2 separate regions of the Homo sapiens genome follow, and region 2 is linked to region 1. The links are contacts of gene promoters, found by promoter capture Hi-C in blood cells and fetal thymus (Javierre and others, 2016). All regions are on one chromosome and are shown on one strand. The core of a region is centred on a gene start or on the middle of the fragment in contact, and the rest is flanking DNA. Distances in the headings are between cores, read along the strand shown. Region 1 holds the start of OR13C5 (olfactory receptor family 13 subfamily C member 5). Region 2 overlaps GRIN3A (glutamate ionotropic receptor NMDA type subunit 3A).

Region 1 (6,225 bases), core at 1,386-3,885:
TTCTTGGCAGCATATCTATAATGACCAAAGAAACTATTACCTGCTTCTCAACTTTCATAGCAAGTATATAAAATTTCCGGAAAATAACTTAAAAAAGAAAATTAATTTAATTATTTATAAAAGAACCTTGACACCATCACATGTTGTGTCCAAAAATGATGCTTAATCACAATTGATAGGAATTAAATCTTAAATTAGGGGAATACCTGACATTAATTGAGATATGAGAAGGGGAGGAATTTGATATTAGCTCTAATCTTCCAGAAAAGACTATAAAAAATAGATTTTTTTTTTTTTAGTAAAGATAACACTCACTTTACAAAAACAGGGGCTCCTAATTTATGGTGTGTAAGTAAAATTTTATCTTTGAAATTATGAAATTTTTTATGCTGTTTTTGGATGACAAATACCTTTAATTTATTTATATATCTAAAATTCCAAAGGAAATATGTGCTTATTGTAAAATAGTCAAATACAACGAAATGTGCAAACTAGAGAATTATAGGTCATGTTTTCATATTAAAATAAAATGGGGCCGGGCACGGTGGCTCATGCCTGTAACCCCAGCACTTTGGGAGGCTGAGGTGGGCAGATCACTTGAGGTCAGGTGTTCAAGACCAGCCTGGCCAACATGGTGAAACCCTGTCTCTACCAAAAACACAAAAATTAGCCAGGCGTGGTGGCACATGCCTGTAGTCCCAGCTACTCAGAAGGCTGAGACAGGAGAATCACTTGAATCTGGGAGGTGGAGGCTGTAGTGAGCTGAGATCGCACCACTACACTCCAGCCTGAATGACAGAGGGAGACTCCGTCTCAGAAAAATAAATAAATAAATAAATAAATAAATAAATAAATAAATACATAAAATAAAATAGGAAATAAATAGTAAAAATAGAATGAAAATGCTCAGTCACTAAATAATGAAGAAAGATGCTTGGATTTCAGAGGAACTTTACAAACAAAAAAATTATCTAGAAACCAGTAAAAAAATTCCCATAAAATACAAAGTCTATAATAAAACAAAAAGTGCTCTAAGTGCCTTCATTAGAGCAAGAAATAGACGAGTAAGAAGGAGGAAATAAGAATTTGTCTTCTTATTTCAAGAAATTAGAAAAATAGATTTGGAAAATAGAAATTAGAAATCAGAAAATTAGAAAAATAGATCCGAATAAACAAGAAATTTATGAAGATAGAAACTTAATGAAACGCAAAAAGTCAAGAGAATAAATCTATCCTAAAGCTGTTTTTTTTTTTTAAAGACCTGGAATATAGGAAAACCCCTTGTGAGTTGAATAAAGGAAAAAAAAAGTCAAAGAGGCATCATAATGAAAATGAGAAATTTTCATGTAAGGGAGGACACAAGAATTATAATGATCAAATGCAACTCTGTGACAAAACATTTGTTATAGAAATGAGTACTTTTCTAGCAAAATATGAAGCATCAAAATCAACTGCTATCAAATTACCATATTGAAATCCCCTTACTGACCAATCACATTTTTATCTGATATTTCTTTTGAAATATTAATACTGTTAGTGAGATTGCAAGATATTCTAGCCCATGAGCCAAATTCTCTTTGCAAATTCTCTTTAAGCATTAAGTTATTAAGTACTGAGTATTAAGTTTTGAGTATTAAGAGCTCGAATTCTGAAGCCATACTGCTTGGGTTTAAGTCCTTGCTCTTTCATTTATCTGTCTTTATGAAATTGACCTTAAGCAAATTACTTAACTTTTCTGTGCCTTATTTTCCCCTCTACACAATAGGCTTGGTGATACTAAGAGTAACAGTATTACCTCATAGGCTTGCTTTTCAGACTCCATTATGTAATGCACAGAGAAAACAAATAATAGAGGGTTGGCGCAGAGTAAGAAATATAGCAATTGTTTTGCCTTTGATTTTGTCTGTGCATCCAACAAATGTTTTTGAACATTTACCTCGGTGTCTGTTCTATTCTAGCTACAGGGGCTGTGGAAATAAGCAAGAATAAGTACCTGCCCTTATGAAGTTTACATTCTACTGGGAAAGACAGACAATATACGTAACATAGTATAATTTCAAGGAGTGACAAGAGCATTGATCTATTGTGTGGTGATTTATAGCCAATAAAATAGTTTAGTGTTCAGTTTTACATAATACAATGCTCATTTCTATTATAACCTTCAGTTTACTATGTGATGACAAATATGACAAAAAGTTCAGACTTCAACAGGAATATTTCGGTTTGAATCTTAGCTCTGCTATATAGTATGTACCTTTGGTCAAGTTTACTTAACATATCCGCTTTGATTTATTCATCTGTAAAATATGGATACTAATACCCCTTTCCTAGAACTGTGATGATATTAAATGAATTAAGTGGCTGTAGCATGAAACATGTTACTTTTATCTTTCCTTCCTTCTCTCCATTCATTCATTCATTCATTCATTCCCTTCCCTCTCTCCATTCATAATTCCCTCTTTTCTGTAGACTTTTCTTTATGCTCTCTCTTCTTTCTTTGGTCTTTTCCCATTTTATTTTTCTTTTTCCTTGGGAATTATGGCACATATTCATTGACACATGCTTGAAAGTAATCAGAGTAAGATAAATATTTGTCTTAACATGCTCTGTCTTACAAGCTAAAGAGGGAGTAAAATGGAATGGGAAAACCACACCATTCTGGTGGAATTTTTTCTGAAGGGACTTTCTGGTCACCCAAGACTTGAGTTACTCTTTTTTGTGCTCATCTTCATAATGTATGTGGTCATCCTTCTGGGGAATGGTACTCTCATTTTAATCAGCATCTTGGACCCTCACCTTCACACCCCTATGTACTTCTTTCTGGGGAACCTCTCCTTCTTGGACATCTGCTACACCACCACCTCTATTCCCTCCACGCTAGTGAGCTTCCTTTCAGAAAGAAAGACCATTTCCCTTTCTGGCTGTGCAGTGCAGATGTTCCTCAGCTTGGCCATGGGGACAACAGAGTGTGTGCTTCTGGGCGTGATGGCCTTTGACCGCTATGTGGCTATCTGCAACCCTCTGAGATATCCCATCATCATGAGTAAGGATGCCTATGTACCCATGGCAGCTGGGTCCTGGATCATAGGAGCTGTCAATTCTGCAGTACAAACAGTGTTTGTGGTACAATTGCCTTTCTGCAGGAATAACATCATCAATCATTTCACCTGTGAAATTCTAGCTGTCATGAAACTGGCCTGTGCTGACATCTCAGGCAATGAGTTCATCCTGCTTGTGACCACAACATTGTTCCTATTGACACCTTTGTTATTAATTATTGTCTCTTACACGTTAATCATTTTGAGCATCTTCAAAATTAGCTCTTCGGAGGGGAGAAGCAAACCTTCCTCTACCTGCTCAGCTCGTCTGACTGTGGTGATAACATTCTGTGGGACCATCTTCCTCATGTACATGAAGCCCAAGTCTCAAGAGACACTTAATTCAGATGACTTGGATGCCACTGACAAACTTATATTCATATTCTACAGGGTGATGACTCCCATGATGAATCCTTTAATCTACAGTCTTAGAAACAAGGATGTGAAGGAGGCAGTAAAACACCTACTGAGAAGAAAAAATTTTAACAAGTAAATGAGAAAGGTGAGAGTAATTTTATAATCACAATATGGAAATCAATTAGAGAAACCAAGGTTAAACAGATAGGTTCTCGTTGCTGTTTCACATTCATCTCTCGAAGTTCTAAAGCTCCAAAATACACTTCTCTGATTGCGATACATAATGAAAAGAAGTAAATAAATAAATTTCAGTGTTTGGAAATAAGTTTCTATTCTGTTCCATTGGTTGATATGTCTATTTTTATCTGAGTACCATGCTCTTTTGATTACAATAACTTTATAACATATTTTAAAACTGCAGCATATGGTGCTCTCAGCTTTGTTTTTGCTTCAGATTGCTTTGCCCAGGCAGGGTCTTTTCTAGTTCCATGTAAATTTTAGGATTGTTGTTTCAATTTTTATGAAAAATGACATTGGAATTTTGATACAGATTGCATTGAATCTGTAGATTGCTTTAGGTAATATGGACATTTCACAATATTAATTCTTCTAATCCATGAACATGTAATATCTTTCGATTTACTTATGTCTTCTTCAATTTTTTTATCAATGTTTTATAGTTTTCAGTGTATAGTTCTTTTACGTCTTTGGTTGTCTTTTTTATTTTGGAGAGATTGGCAACCAACTCATCTAAAATGATATGTGATCATTAAATAACAAGTAAAAGAATGAGGGTTCAAAACAAAACAACTCTACATTTTTTGCTGGAACATGTTAGCTCTCTTATTAGAAAATTATGTTTATTGGCTTGTATTTTGTGAGATGAGGGGTATATAGTGATGAGTCTATTTTGAGCTTGTACACCTTGGCCTATAACTTATTGTTAACATTAAAATGTAATGGGATAATATCTATAGACAAATAGAAAATTTCAAATAATCCCTTATTCCCCATCATTGCTAGGGATTCGACAGTTCTCTTAAAATTGCCTCATAGCTATACATTTGCACATATACTTCTTTTTGTTCTATGGATTTGTATATGCCATTGCTTTATAAGACATCCTTGATATACTTTTTGCAATTAGCCTTTTCAGGCTCTTACAGACAGCCTCTATTATACTAAAAGCTACGTAAAATGAAATCTTTAAAAATGAGATGTTATTCTCGGTCCCTAAATACTGGGGTAGTTTGAAGATGTCAGGATGTGTTGTCTGCCATGATTCTGAAAAGACTAACATTAAAAGCCATAGTTTTCATTCTCCACTGGCCTGGGGAAACTGATGTTCTGTTATCTATGAAAACCTGGGGGAAAATATATTATTTAATATTATCTTGAGTTATCATAGCCATGAACTACCTTGAGTTCTAAAGATTAAGTCTCCAGGGTTTCCATATATAGTTCATTAAGTGTCTTCTTTATGTGAAGACACTTTGTTGCTCAGACCAATGTCATGGAAATTTGGAGGTTCTGGGGAAATTCTGGAGGCCATGCCCTGCATACAGAATGAATGCTGATCTAAGGTAAACTAGAGCTACAAGGAACTAAAGTCATGTGCCATTTAACAACGTTTTGATCAATGACAGATAACATATAATGGTGGTCTCAGGAGATTATAATTTTATATTTTTACTGTGACTTTTCTTGTTATTTTAGATACACAAATACCATTGTGACACAATTGCCTATAGTGTTCAGTACAGTAGCATGCTGTACAGCTTTGTAGCCTAGGAGCAATAGGCTATGCTATGTAGCCTCAGTGTATAATAGGCTATATCATCTAGGTTTGCATAAATATACCCTGTGATGTTTACAACATAATAAGATTTGACAATTATGCATTTCTCAGACTGTACCCCTGTTTTTATGACTGTAATATTTTTTCATGCTGAAATCTCCATGAGTCTAAAGAACATTACTCTCTGTAATACTCTTTAAATTTGCAGACATGTAGATTTGTGTCTAGTTTTCCTAGACCCCATGGAAAATGTTGGTCAGAAACATACAGTTTTTAAAGTATTTAGCTGCTGTTACATTTTGGCAGAATATTTAATAAATAGATCCATACTTATTAAAAAAAGAGGTATGCTCAGTTTTTAATGTTTGGATCCAGTTAGAAGGGATGTCAGCTTATTGTTAATAACACTGACTCAATTAGTATAGATAACCTTTTCATCTTCTCAAAAAAAAGAAAGCTTTATCCTCAAGTATATTTTTTCACCTTAAGTTTTCAAATGCTTCGTGATATGAGTTCCAATTACTGGGTTCCAGGCAGAATGTAAGTTGGAACATAAAATATTCAGGACAATTGACCCTGGTCTGTGCTAAAATAGGTGAAGCTTTCCACTGAGGTTTGGGCCTCCATCTCTTAGTCTCCCAGGCACAAGAAATCCTGTCTCAGAATCTACTCATACTGCAGTTACGTTGGCCACATCAAGATCTACCAAGAGACTCTATTATAATGATGTTTTCCACAATTTACTTTGATATTTGTAATTTCCTTTATATTTATTATACACCAGATAGTGTCCAGGTGTTTTTTTACTTATTTGCATTTCTTCTGTGCTGCCTTACTAATATCATTAGAAAAATGTTTTATAGGATTCCTGGGAGCTCATTTATACACTTCGTATGAAATTGGCTTTACATTTGCTATAATATTTTGGTGCTAAAAATATTTTATGTTTTCTGCAATTTGCTGAAAAGAGAA
Region 2 (6,225 bases), core at 1,178-3,677, 3.0 Mb after region 1:
AAATTACAATATTTAAAACAGGAAAAATGAATAATTATAAAACAGTTGGCAAAAATAGAAGCCTTCTAGGCATTGCAGTATCTTTGGTGGCATTGGGAATGGCTTTCACCCTTTTTATGGGTCATTTTACACATCACAAGTCATCAGAACAGTTGTATCCTTTGACCAGGTAATCTCACTCATTGCAATGTATATCTCAAAGAAATAAAAATATTTTAAAATGCTATACATGGCCAGGTGCAGAGGCTCACGTCTTTAATCCCAGCACTTTGGGAGGCCGAGGCAGGTGGATCGCTTGAGGTCAGGAGTTCAAGACCAGCCTGGTCAACATGCTGAAACCCCATCTCTATTAAAAAAATACAAAAATCAGCCAGGCGTGGTGGCACATGCCTTTAGTCCCAGCTACTTGGGAGGCAGAAACAGGAGAATCATTTGAACCAGAAAGGCGGAGGTTGCAGTGAGTTGAGATCGCTCCACTACATTCTGCCCTGGGAGTCACAGTGAAACGCCATCTCAAAAAAAGAAAAAAAAATACTATACACAAAATTTTTATTGTAGCAATATTTGTCGTATATACCATAAATTATAATATTTAAAAAATTAAACAACCACAGTTTGGGAGTAGTCAAGTCAATTATAACAAAAACAATAGGTGATAGTATTAGGCAACTAAAGTTAATAAATAAAATAATATTTAGAAAATAATATTTTTAGAAATATTAAAATAGTTTGTTAGAAAATAAGTTCTTTTAAAAGCATAATGCAAACTTGTTATATCCTATGTTTAGAACTCTGAAGAATATGTGTGCATATGGTCATTGTTCAGAAGAGAAAATGGAGCATTGAAAGTAATTGTTTTATAGTACAAGGATTATGGGTAATCTCACATTTAGTTTTTAAAAATATTTTTCTGAGTCGTTTTAATAATAAATTTTTCAAAAAACTGCACAACAGAGCTAATGTGGCAAATTAAGTACAATTTCAACCCTAAAAGATGGTCGCCCAAGCTTAAAAGAAATGGGGGCTCAAGAATCCCAAGAAACAGGGAGAGAGAAGCATCTTCACAGCAACATGGGCAGTGCCATGTTGATGAGCCACTAAGCAGTTTCCAGGTTAGAGGAATGCAGAGAGTGCTGTCAAAATCCTTGTTTATCCAAATGTGTGAGCACTACTCAGGCTCATGCAGTGTCTCCCTGGATTTTGTGTTAATAAATTATCTCCTCTTCTGTTTCTTTTGTTAAGTGTGATCTTTCACTATGTCTTGGTTAATGAGAAACTTCCAGGTTCTCTGAATGAATCTTTTTTCTCCCTCTTCATGATTCTTGTTAAATATATATGTTTTAATTCCAAATGATTGCACCGCACAATCTTACCTAACTCTCTTCAACCAGACTCTCTCACCTGGGAAACTCTGTCTTTGGTACATCTGGAGCCCACATTTCATGTGGATATCATTCTCCTACTTCTCCCCAACAAGGGGCCATATGTATAGACACAGCAATGAATCTGCCAAGTTCTTTTGAGCAACTAACTATTCTTCTGGGCAAAATAATCAGGAGGCAATAAATAAATAAATAAATAAATAAAATAGATACCAGGTCTTCAAAATTAGAAATAGCATTTGCTTCTTCCTTGTCCTGCTTCCAAGCATCTATGAGTCATCCATATTTCAGAAGCACCACAGCCTTTTTCTTTTCCTTACCTCTCATTAAAATCATTATTTCTCCCCCTGCCACCAGCTCTCTTATTAAGGAAAAAAATTCTTGAACATCGCATTTGGCTGTGCAGATCCAGAGAGGAGATGATACAAAGCTTAGTGCATTAGGTCACTGAAAAATACAATTATTTTCCCAGGTTCTTGCAGTCATTTTGCTCTGGGGAAAAATATTTAATAGGGAATGTCAGAGTAAATGTAATTAAGTTACTTTTCAGACATGTGCTTTTTATTTTTTATTGAACTTACTATATACTAGGCTGCTGGAGACAGGCAAAAGCAACACAGCCTTACCCTGTCAGAGAAGACTTCCTAAAACAGGCTCCACCCGTTCATTTCTGAGATCTGCGTCAGGATACAGTCTATCTCAAAAGAAGTTATATTCACACCTCGGAGCTAGAGGACCTTAATCCTTTAAACAGTACATATATTGAATCAGATTATTTGGTTGCAAGCAACAGATTTTTTTTTTTTTTTTTTGAGATGGAGTCTCGCTCTGTTGCCCAGGCTGGATTGCAGTGGTGCAATTTCAGCTCACTGCAGCCTCTGCCTCCCGGATTCAAGCAATTCTCCTGCCTCAGCCTCCCGAGTAGCTGGAACTACAGGCACCTGCCACCATGCCTGACTAATTTTTGTATTTTTAGTAGAGACAGGGTTTCACCATGTTGATCAGGCTGGTCTCGAACTCCTGACCTCAGATGATCCACTTGTCTCGGCCTCCCAAAGTGTTAGGATTACAGGCGTGAGCCACTGCGCCCGGCTGCAACAGATTTTTAAACTTAAGCAAAACCTATCAAAAGAATAACGGGAAAGCTCAATGTTTTGAAGTAAGAAAGAGAGTGACAGATGAAGCCTCGAACCACAGCACTCCAAGGATGCTAGTGCAGGAACTAGGGGACTATGTCTTTGGGGCACTGACATTGGAAATGACTCATCTCCAAACACCTTTGATATCCAGTGTTTCTGTTTCAGATTCACATTGACTGGCCTTGAGTCTCATGCTTTGCCTGGTGAACAGGGAGCAGGGAGTCTGTGATTGGTAGATACACCAAAACCACATGAAGCAGGAAGAGGGCAGTTCCCCAAAGAAAGGATCCTAAGAAAACAAAATCAATACATTCCTCCTGAAATTTTTGCATTCAGTTTCCAGTGTTTTACTTCAGTAATTTAAAAAATTTTTTGTCCCAGTTTCAACAGTAGATCCCTAGATTGGTGAATATTAGCATGATCAGGTCAGGCTAGCAAAACTGGGCCTTGTTTCCTCTCCTTTTAATTGAGAATGTCCATCTCCACCCTTCTCTCTTAAACAACTGTTCTAGGAAGCTTCTGTGATATAATGAGACTGTTTGGGATCGGGGGTGGGGGAAATTATGCAAATTTATTTTATACAAAAAATCCTAGTTTTCATATGCTTTCATTCATTCATTTAAAAAATATTCACCGTGCTGGGCACTGTTCTAAACAAGAGTATGTATCGAGCAAAATGGACAAAAGTGCTGCCCTCCTGTAGCTTACATTCTACTTTGCTGGGGAAATAGGCAATAAACAAATAAACACATACTATGTCAAGAGAGAAATAAAGCAAAGTAAGAGAGATAGATTGTATCTGAAAGAGGATGGAAGGGGGAAAAGAATTTGCCTTTTTAAGCACAGTGATTAGGGTAAACTTCATGGATAGGTGACATTTGAGAAGAAACCTAAAGAAAGTGAGGGAAGGAGCAATATTGATTCCTGGCAGAAGAGTTTACAGGCACGAACAGAAAATGAAAATACCCTCAAGTGGCAAGTTGCTCAATAGATTTAAGGAACAATAAGGAAGCCCAAATGGCTGAGCAAAGTCAACCAGCGAGAGAGAAGAAGGATATGAGGAAATAGATCTTGTGAGGCCTCATAGCCCATTGCAAGGACTCTGAATTTACTCCGCAAGAGACAGAAAACCATGACCAGGCATTGAGCACAGGAGTGACATGACAGTCATTCTCACTGCTGTGAAGAAGACAGAAGGGGTTAGGGAAAACAACTAGGAGGCTGTCTCAATAATCTAGGTGAGGTGAGAGGGGATGGTGGCTTGGATCAGGGTGGTTGGTGGAGGTGGTGGGATGTTGAATTCTGGATATACTTTGAAGGTCGGTTCCACCATATTTGCAGATACACAGGGTAATGGGATGCTAGAGAAAGACAGGAATCAAAGGTGGTTCTAAGGTTTTTTTCCCTGTGTCATGGCAAGGATGGAGGTTCATTGTGATGAGAAAGACTGTGTAAGCAGCAGGTTTCAGAGGGAAAATTAGGAGTTTGCTTTTAATGTGTTATCTTTGAAATGTCCGTTCATTACCTAAGTAAAGAGGCAGAGTAGGAAGTTAGGACAGAAAAGCCCCCAACTCTTGGGAGTCATTGACATCTGGGTGGTATTTAAAGCTGACTCTGAATGAGAACATGAGTGTAGCTGAAAAACTGAAAGCATGCCTATGTTTACAGTCAGAAAGATGAAGAAGAAAAGCAAAAGAGACTAAGGTACAACAAAGAGAAAGAAGTATCACAAAAACAAAGTTAAGAAACTATACCAAAGAAGATGGAGTAATCAATGGCGTCCAAGCTGCCGATACATGAATAAGGTGAAAACTGACCGTTAGATTTGGCAATATGGAGGCCATTTTTTACTTTTACAGGAATTGTTTGACAGGTGATGGGAGGGGACAAAAGTCTGATTGAAGAGGGTCTAAGGGAGAATGGGAGAAAAGGAATTAGAAGCAATGAGTATAGACAACACTCTAGAAAACCAGAGAAATCAGGTGGTTGCTATGTGCTGGGAGGTGTGGAATGGGCACAAGGAAGGATTAGCTGCATAGATCTTGATTAGTAACATCAAAAACAAATGATGAGTGAAACACTTTATCTGCATTTCTTGCTGGAGACTTGAGAACTAGTCACTACTCGAGCCAGCTGTCAGATGTTTCAAGTGACGACATCTGAACAAAATACAAAGCAGGGTTTGGGCAACAACAAAGTTTATAATCTTATCCTATACATGTTACTGATCTGGTCAGAGACCACACCTGTGATAGTACAAACATCTCCTTTTATCTGAATTTGGTCCATTCCTAGAAATGTGTTGGCTAGTAAATTTATAGATGGTGGAAGCCCTTTCCATTATTTCAAATGGAAAAAATAATAAAGTATTCCTATTTCATCCAAAAATCTCAAGCAGTTTCCCTAAATTCGCTAAAACACTCTTAGACACCTGTAGACATTTAATATCTAATGCACAATGCATGGATATGTGACAATCTACCAAGAATTTCTGCATAACATAAAGCATTTAAAACATTAGTTGTATAGTGCATAATTTGTTGGTATTCCTCCATGCAACATGCAGAGTACAGTATCAGATACAAACTATGTTTTTTCTTCACAGTGTAGTAAATATATACTAATGTAAATTAACAATAAAATGCTAAAGAAACATAATGAATATAAATAACCTTTAGAAAAATGAAATACATGAGCAAGGCAATTTTTTGAATGATTACTTACTAGTTAAAGAGTTGCCTAAGTGAGATGGGGTGGGCTAGAGTAAGTTTGTGAAGGACCAACTGGAGCAATAAATGCCTGAGATTTGTCCCTGGCTCAATCCTGGGACTAGCCGGGTGCAGTGGCTCACACCTGCATTCCCAACAATTTGGGAGGCTGAGGCGGGCAGATTACCTAAGGTGGAGAGTTCAAGCCTGGCTAATATGGTGAAACCCTGTCTCTACTAAAAATACAAAAATTAGCTGGGTGTGGTAACACATGCCTGTAATCCCAGCTACTTGGGAGGCTGAGGCATGAGAATTGCTTGAACCCGGGAGGCAGAGGTTGCAGTGAGTCAAGACTGTGCCATTGCACTCTAGTATGAGCCTCAGAGTGAGACTCTGTCTCAAAAAATCCAATCAAATCAATCAATCCTGTGACAGCCTTCTCTCCCTGGCCCTTGAGTCTCTGGAAGTGTGTGGCTATGAGCTAGCAAATGAAGCTGCAGCTGAAGCAATGGGATAAAGGGGGAAAAAACAACAACCTCAAAACATATGTTTGTTTGCATTCTTTTTGCATTCATTTACATGGCCCTTGACAGCATGAGACTGGACTTCTGCTTGCATTTCTGAATGTGCTACCACTCAAGTCACTTGCAGCTGCAATTATCATTTTGTCTGCATCACCTGAGTGTATTTTAAATATTTGATATTGAATATTCATAACTCCTTCTTTTCTTCCTCTGACCAATAATGAGTATCAAGTTGAGCAGTTTTTTACTAGAAAGAAAGTTTTCACTTGATAATATGGGGAAGATGCACATATGCACAGCACATTTAAACAATGTGATCCTAGGGGAGGAACCGCTGAATTACAAAGGCAGCTGTATGTCTTGTCACTCAGACTCAGACACAATTGAAACATTTTCTCTGGTGTTCACAGGCAGATGATAGTGGATTTTCCATTCCAATGTGAGTTTTAAATAAAAAATTGTGATAGTTGTT

Evidence for each region. Contacts are between HindIII fragments. The CHiCAGO score rates a contact against its expected background, and 5 or more counts as called.
Region 2: a fragment that was not itself captured here is called in contact with the fragment with the promoter of OR13C5 in region 1 in 1 of 17 cell types (endothelial precursors); the score reaches 5.5 in endothelial precursors.

Annotation. Positions count from the first base shown.
Region 1 is chr9:104,595,823-104,602,047 of GRCh38, reverse strand. OR13C5 (olfactory receptor family 13 subfamily C member 5) reads left to right here and starts at 2,635. Exons shown (of 1, transcript NM_001004482.1): 1 at 2,635-3,591. The coding sequence starts at 2,635. The coding sequence ends at 3,591. All of the region lies in intron 3 of LOC107987105 (a long non-coding RNA gene), which reads left to right. The HindIII fragment of the contact is 5,863 bases long and covers 1-5,712 here.
Region 2 is chr9:101,583,279-101,589,503 of GRCh38, reverse strand. The region is part of intron 6 of GRIN3A (glutamate ionotropic receptor NMDA type subunit 3A); the gene reads left to right. Among named protein-coding and RNA genes, the nearest start is that of PPP3R2, 8.6 kb to the left of the region's middle. RefSeq lists an enhancer at 2,734-2,783. The HindIII fragment of the contact is 1,225 bases long and covers 1,815-3,039 here.